2 separate regions of the Homo sapiens genome follow, and region 1 is linked to region 2. Evidence: promoter capture Hi-C in 16 types of primary human blood cells and fetal thymus (Javierre and others, 2016). All regions are on one chromosome and are shown on one strand. Each heading gives the region's core, a stretch centred on a gene start or on the middle of the fragment in contact. The rest is flanking DNA. Distances are from core to core; before and after follow the strand shown. Region 1 overlaps SNUPN (snurportin 1). Region 2 holds the start of SNX33 (sorting nexin 33).

Region 1 (3,712 bases), core at 1,020-3,519, 50 kb before region 2:
TCAGCTGCCATCTATGTGCTGATACCTCCAGACCTGTATCTATCTACTTGCCATTCATCTCCAGTCACCTTAATACTCAGCATGTCCCAAACTGAACTCAATACCTTTCCTCCTCAATCCCCCTCAACTGTGCTTTTCCTGGGATCCTTGTCCTTGTTAGTGGCACTCAGTCACCCATATTAGGAATCTAGGAATCATCACAATGATGATTCCATTTCTTATATTTCACAGCTAGTGAGTCACCATGTCCTTTAATTCCCACCTCTCTCTTCATTTCCTCTACAACCTTAATTCAGGCCTTCATCATCTCTCTCATAGGGTACTGCCAGATCCTCCTACCTAGTTTCCCTGCCACTAGTCTTTTCCCCTTTGAATCCATCCCTGCCATAGCAGAGTGATCCTTTCTAAAAATATAGGTTTGATCATGTTACTTCAAGGATGTACCATTGACTGCAAGATACATGTGAAGCTTCTCATCCTGCCATGCAAGTTCATTCATGACCTGACCTTAGTATATCTCTCCAGCCTCATAAATTACCTTGCCTCCTTTGCTGCCTACTTTTCAGTGATGCTGTTTTACAGTTCTGTGTATAAATGCATCTGTTTCATACTTTTCCCCTACACCATCCCCGCTCACTCTGACTTCATTCACCTGGTGGATATACCTATTCGTCTTTGAAGGACTCCATTCAAAAGACACCTGTTTGAACATTTTCCTCTGCAGGTAGAGTAGCCATTCTTTGTGCCCTCCCCATCCATACAGCCAGCTCTCACAGTGATTATAATATTTTATCACACTTATGTATTTACATATATATTTCCCAAACTCAGGGAATAGTCCACAGACTACCGTTACTTTGGATACCAGTTGCAAGTTTGGGGAACCCTAAGACTACCCTCTGGTTATATAATTCGCCACAAGGACTCACAGACCTCATTGAAAGCTGTTATAGTCTCTGGGCGCAGTGGCTCACCCCTGTAATCCCAGCTACTCAGGAGGGTGAGGCAGGAGAATCGTCTGAACTGGGGAGGCGGAGGTTGCAGTGAGCCGAGACTGTGCCACTGCACTCCAGCCTGGGCAACACAGCAAGACTCTATCCCAAAATAAAAAAAAAAAAATCAAGTTGTGATTGTTGATAATTTTGGCTGATATATCCTTTGATTCATGCAGCTGTCCCCAGAGTGTGTGTGCCTGTAGTGCCTGTGTGCGCCCTTTGGGGAAGTAGTCCTTCCAGACCTGATTATTTCTGAACAGAGTATGGCCAAGTCACTATTGACACTAGCATGCATAGCTTCTGAACTGATATGGTTGGCTGCTGATAGCACAGACTAGAGCACTCAGAAAATTATCAAACAGAGACTAAATGTTTAGGCACTTAAAACATGCTCCTTGGCAAGAGGAACACAATGTTCCTATTACAGAATTGACCTAAATTCAGGAAAGAGCTTATTGATGTAGGCAAATGCTTGAATCTGCAGCCAGCAGGATCATCAATGGATGAGGGTGGGAGCGGGGAGTCTTCCAATTTTACAAGGTCAGCTTGAGCAACTCTCTAAGAGCCGACACTAAGACTAGTTCCACTGGATGTACTGAAGTTGTATAATCAGGCTCCAAATAACTACTACCTCTGCCCAAATCTGTTCCCAGAACTAATCAACATGCAGGGACCACTGCATGTCAGACAAGAGCTGACCTGGATCCCTGTGAAAATCTGTCCACAGGACACTAGTGCTGCTGGAGGGAATGGTGAAGTACTTGTATCCATGACAGAGTCCTAGAAAGATGGGAAGCAATATGGGAGCTGACTGAAGCCACAGGAAGTGGGATCCATTTCCTGAATACAAAGCAGAAACTAATTAGTCAGTTTCCAACACAATCTTCCATTCTCACAGCTGCCAAAGACCTCCAGTTCACAAATCTCAAGAGACCTTGCCTGCTCAAAGTTCTTTCTTAGCTCCTTTCATCCATGACACAAAATCTAAAACCTGCTATCTCTCTCCAGCCTCTTCTCCCAAACTGTCCTGGTGGGCTTCTTTTCTCACAGGAGTGTGAGCTCCTCAAGGGCAGGGACTAAGTACTGTCCACCTCCATAACCCCTCTACTTGGCAGGGGCCTAGGACAAGCTTATCTCCTGGTAGGCACAAATGTTTGCTGAAGGAGTGAATGAACTACATTTGCATTTTATCTCTGGCAATGTCTAAACCAAAGAAAATCACACTTGTCTTCTCAGAAGAGGGAACATATTCAAATACCCAGAATTGCAGTTCCTGGTAAAACCTTTCGGCGGCAGCAGCAACTGGAAACTCAGCAGAATCTTTGAGTACTAAAAAGAGTGAAATGGGCCAAGACTTGAACAGCCATGGTTGAAGTAGCCCAGGGGACTGAGATGGGAAGGGGAGATTCATGGCTATCTAAAGCTTAAGAACCACAAACCAGTTCTTTCTTACAAATCACATATATTTACATTGTGGATCTGGGATACACTTATCACAGTAGGAGCTGCTCAAATCAATCTGAATGCTACGCAATCTGGGAACCTCCCCATAACTGTTTGAGCCAGCATTTCAGATTATAGATAAGCTGTTTCCAGCTGGACTGGGTTTGGAAAGTTCACTCTAAAGAATGAAGTCACCTGTTGTCACTGTCCTCCTCTCCAGGATTCCTTTTGGGGCCAGGTACCATCCTGTGGCTCCTTAAGGAGGCTTCTCTCTTTAATTCTCCATGAGGCATCCAGGGTGGTCTGGGCTATGGGAAGAACCCTTCAACTTGGGAGTAGACAGGTGCTCCAATTCATAGTGCCCATTCTCAGAGGCCTTGTGTGTGAGTTTCTCCTTCATGCCTTCCTTCTGGCTCTTCTTGTGCTCCATAATCTGCTGGAGCTGGTGCCCAGCATAGTCTGGCTTGGTGGTCAGCGGGCCAGCCGGCACAGCTACACCAAGGACATCTGACACCATGTAGGGGCGCAGCCAGCCCACCAAGGGAGTGCTTCCGGGGCTGTAGTGGGTCTGTTTGTGGTAGAAGAGAAGTCCATCTACCTATAAGACAAGGGGAAATTGAGGATCAAATGACTTCTGGGGCCACATGTTTCCAGGAGAGCCTATACACACAAGGGCAGCTCTTGTGGTCCGACTCCTTTTTCTGGGTCACTGACAGAGGAAAGAGTCCCAGCTTCTCACACATGCCGTTTCTCTAAATAAAGAAATGGCCTAGAAAACTAAATTTGAGAAAATAAAAACATTGGCTGGGCGTGGTGGCTCATGCTTATAATTCCAGCACTTTGGAGGCTGAGGCAGGCAGATTGCTTGAGCTCAGGAGTTTGAGACCAGCCTGGGCAACATGGTAAGACTCCATTTCTACTAAAAATTCAAAAAAATAGCCAGGCATGTGTGGCACATGCCTGTAATCCCAGCTACTCGGGTGTCTGAGACACGACAACCGCTTGAACCCAGTAGGCAGAGGATGCAGTGAGCTGAGACTGCACCACTGCACTCCAGCCTGGCGACAGAGTGAGACTCTGTCTCAAAAAAAGAAAAAAAAAAAGGAAAGGATAAACATAAATAGCACTTTCCTGTTTACAGAGTGCTTTCCTGCCCACTATTTTACTATCTTACCCATGACGGTGTCTGAGAGATGGGGCTGCTCATACTCAGGGAGTTCTGAGGACCTCCTTAAAACACACAGTGAGTAGGAAGCAGGACTTCAACTTGAACT
Region 2 (3,872 bases), core at 15-2,514:
TCTACTTGTCACAACATATCTGAGCTTTTGGAAAATAAGGATAATGTCTTATTTGTCTTTGTAGCTCAGGGGCCTGGTGCAGAGTAGGTACTCAGTTAATGTTTCTTGAGTGCATGACTTGGCTGAATGAATGACTGAGACAGAATGGATTGATTAAAGACAAGAGAGGGTGGACTGTAAGCCCCCCAGGATAGAAACCCCGACTGCCTTGTGGTGTACTACTCCCCAGTGCCCAGCACAGTGCCTAGCAGAATCAATGCCCAAAGTGTTCCCGATATGCTGACCGAGGGTCAGATCCCACTTGCCTCTTCTCGAAGATTCTCTACCTGACCACTTCTCTCCTTGCTGCCGCTGGCTAGCACAGAACATCCAGTCCCCGCTGCTGTACTAAGCAACACGGAACCGGGTGGCACCTAGACTTGTTCCCTGTCGCTGCAGATGTAGAGTAGTGTCTTTCCCTCCTTCCAAGCTAGTCGCCCAGGGCAGGGTCGCCCTGTCTGGCTAGGGTGCTGCACCCGCAGCTCTCGGTATCTTAGGTCAGACGCCTGGAACGCGCAGGCCGTTTCTGTTCCTCCGGAAAACAATCTCTGAGCTGCGCCACGACCCGTCCCTGCGGAGCAGGAGTGGGGAATGGGAAGGTGGGAAGGCGAGTCCGCGACTCTGCTCCCCAACCCCAGCTGGCGCGGCGGCTTTCCACGCACCCCCCTCCCCCCACCCCGATCTCCCGATCCTGGCTCTGGCGCGGTGCTCCTTGCAGCCCCACGCTTTGCAAACTTTCGGAGTTTTACTCCATTTGCGTCACGGAAAAGGCAGGAGGATGACGGAGTCCAGGAAGCGAGGCAGCGGCAGCTGGCAAGCTCCCCCGCCGGGCGCTCCAACCACGGGGGCGTGAGGTGTCTCCCGGCGAGGGCGGACAGGCGGAGGGAGAGGAGGGGAGGTGGCGGTCCCAGGGACCAGCCCCGGAGGCTCTCGGGCCCCCTCGTTCCCGGGTCGTTTCCTCCCTCTCGCCTCCCGGACTGAGCGCCAGCGAGCGAGGGCGCTGGCCAGCTGGGAAGCCGCGCGGAGGAGTAGGCGGGGGCTCGGCTGCAGCGCCCCGGGCCCGCGGGAGGGCGGAGCTGGCCGTCCCTGCCCCGCCGGGACGCACGGAAGTGCAGCGGAGTTTGCCCGATTCTCCAGCCTGCTTCCCCCTCCCTCCTCCCTCTCCCCACCCCTCACCTCCCCTTTGGCGATCCCCTCCTTCCTCAGGACGCCACCTCCCGGAATCGCCTTTTTGTTTTGGAGCTGCCTTCTCGCTGGCGGAGCGGAGGGTCTGCGAGCGCCGGGGAAGGCAGGCTGGGGGCGCAGCCCGCCCCCCACTGGCCGGGCCCCGCAGGGCGGAGAGGAGGACGGACGGACAGACGGCTGGCCGCGCCATCTGCTCGCCGGAGCTCACTCTCCAAACTCCAAACTGTTGAGTGTGTGCGTGCACGCGAGGGTGGTGATCGGGGGTCGTAAGTCCCGGGTGAGGAACCGGTTTCTGCTGGGGTTACCTTTGGACGGGGTTCCTGGGATTCAGAGCAGGGTCAGCGTCAGGCTCAGAAACTGCTGAGGAATTAGGCAAACAAAAGAGACCACTCAGCGAGTGGCTAGAAGTCGCCCGACAGCCTCGTCGCGCCCCCTCCTTCCTCCGGGGTTGGGGCTGGCCACTTCTGGGGCGGGGAGAGGGCGCCCGAGCCGGCGGGGGCTCCGGCTGCGCAGCCGGGGTCGAAGAGTTGGCGGCCTGTTGTGTAAGCCTCAGTCCTTGTTTTCCCGGCCTGGCTCGTTGTGAAGCCGGACACATCCACCCTTGGACTCGATTCAGGCGGCTGCTGCTTTTCTCCTTGCCCCTCTTGGATTTTCCGGATTTTTGAAAACCCAGTGGCCCAGGAGCAAGAGGAGGAAGGAGGAAGGGGCAGATCTGCAGAGGAATGTGAGAGCCTCCCAAAGCGAGAGCCGCCAAAAGAATCTGGGAGCCAGAGGGACAGCCGAGCCCTGCCCGGGTTTCTGGAATGGTGGTTTCAGAGTGAGTCTCTTCTATTTTAGAACGTTGTTCCAGTGGAAAGTGTCGAATTTTTCCCCTCGCAGGGCAGATTTCTCCAGGTCACTTGACTTTTCTTCTGGGAGTAGGAGTTAGGAGAGATTCCCCTCTAACCCCCCAGAGGCTGCTAAGGGAGGAGGAGACTGTGGACATGAGCCCTCCCTGCTCACAAGCATATGCCCGGAGACCTGATAGGGCAGTTTCTGGGCCATGGACATTGCTTTGAAGAGGGGGAGACTGGACAGCATCTGTGGGTGCTGAGACCCCACCTTAGGACCTGAGAGATTGAACTGTGTAAGCGCCATTCAGCTGCGAGTGCATTCTTGGACTGCCTTGTGAGCATCCCCGGTCTGGGCAGGACCCTCTCCTTCCCATCTTTCTATACCACCCAGCCCAGCCATGGCACTGAAAGGCCGAGCCCTCTATGACTTTCACAGTGAGAACAAGGAGGAAATCAGCATCCAGCAGGATGAGGACCTGGTCATCTTTAGCGAGACCTCACTGGATGGCTGGCTGCAGGGCCAGAACAGCCGTGGGGAGACAGGGCTCTTTCCTGCCTCTTATGTGGAGATCGTCCGTTCTGGCATCAGCACCAACCATGCTGACTACTCCAGCAGCCCTGCAGGCTCTCCCGGAGCCCAGGTGAGCTTGTACAACAGCCCCAGTGTGGCCAGCCCAGCTAGGAGTGGTGGGGGCAGTGGCTTCCTCTCAAACCAGGGTAGCTTTGAGGAGGATGATGATGATGACTGGGATGACTGGGACGACGGATGCACAGTGGTGGAGGAGCCACGGGCTGGTGGGCTGGGCACCAACGGGCACCCTCCCCTCAACCTCTCCTACCCTGGTGCCTACCCCAGCCAGCACATGGCCTTCCGGCCCAAGCCACCACTGGAGCGGCAGGACAGCCTGGCATCTGCCAAGCGAGGCAGTGTGGTGGGCCGTAACCTCAACCGTTTCTCATGCTTTGTGCGTTCTGGAGTGGAGGCCTTCATCCTGGGTGATGTGCCCATGATGGCCAAGATCGCTGAGACATACTCCATTGAAATGGGCCCTCGTGGCCCCCAGTGGAAGGCCAATCCCCACCCATTTGCCTGCTCTGTGGAGGACCCCACAAAACAGACCAAATTCAAGGGCATCAAAAGCTACATCTCCTACAAGCTCACACCCACCCATGCTGCCTCACCCGTCTACCGGCGCTACAAACACTTTGACTGGCTCTATAACCGCCTGCTACACAAGTTCACTGTCATCTCGGTGCCCCACCTGCCTGAGAAGCAGGCCACTGGCCGCTTCGAGGAGGACTTCATCGAAAAGCGGAAGCGGAGACTCATCCTCTGGATGGACCACATGACCAGCCACCCTGTGCTCTCCCAGTACGAAGGCTTCCAGCATTTCCTCAGCTGCCTGGATGACAAGCAGTGGAAGATGGGCAAACGCCGGGCGGAGAAGGATGAGATGGTGGGTGCCAGCTTCCTGCTCACCTTCCAGATCCCCACCGAGCACCAGGACTTGCAGGACGTGGAAGATCGCGTGGACACTTTCAAGGCCTTCAGTAAGAAGATGGACGACAGCGTCCTGCAGCTCAGCACTGTGGCATCAGAGCTGGTGCGTAAACATGTGGGGGGCTTCCGCAAGGAATTCCAGAAGCTGGGCAGTGCCTTCCAGGCCATCAGTCATTCCTTCCAGATGGACCCCCCCTTTTGCTCTGAGGCCCTCAACAGTGCCATTTCTCACACGGGCCGTACCTATGAAGCCATCGGGGAGATGTTTGCTGAGCAGCCCAAGAATGACCTCTTCCAGATGCTGGACACACTGT

Evidence for each region. The method cuts DNA at HindIII sites, captures the fragments that hold promoters and counts their contacts. A CHiCAGO score of 5 or more calls a contact.
Region 1: a contact is called between a fragment that was not itself captured here and the fragment with the promoter of SNX33 in region 2, in 2 of 17 cell types (naive CD4 T cells and megakaryocytes). The highest score is 5.7, in naive CD4 T cells.

Annotation. Positions count from the first base shown.
Region 1 is chr15:75,595,646-75,599,357 of GRCh38, forward strand. It overlaps SNUPN (snurportin 1), which reads right to left. Exons shown (of 9, transcript NM_005701.4): 9 at 2,441-3,036. The coding sequence ends at 2,713. Among named protein-coding and RNA genes, the nearest start is that of PTPN9, 18 kb to the left of the region's middle. The HindIII fragment of the contact is 294 bases long and covers 2,123-2,416 here.
Region 2 is chr15:75,646,648-75,650,519 of GRCh38, forward strand. SNX33 (sorting nexin 33) reads left to right here and starts at 1,265. Exons shown (of 2, transcript NM_153271.2): 1 at 1,265-3,872. The coding sequence starts at 2,456. RefSeq lists a silencer at 884-1,423 and an enhancer at 1,049-1,740. The HindIII fragment of the contact is 30,102 bases long and covers 1-3,872 here.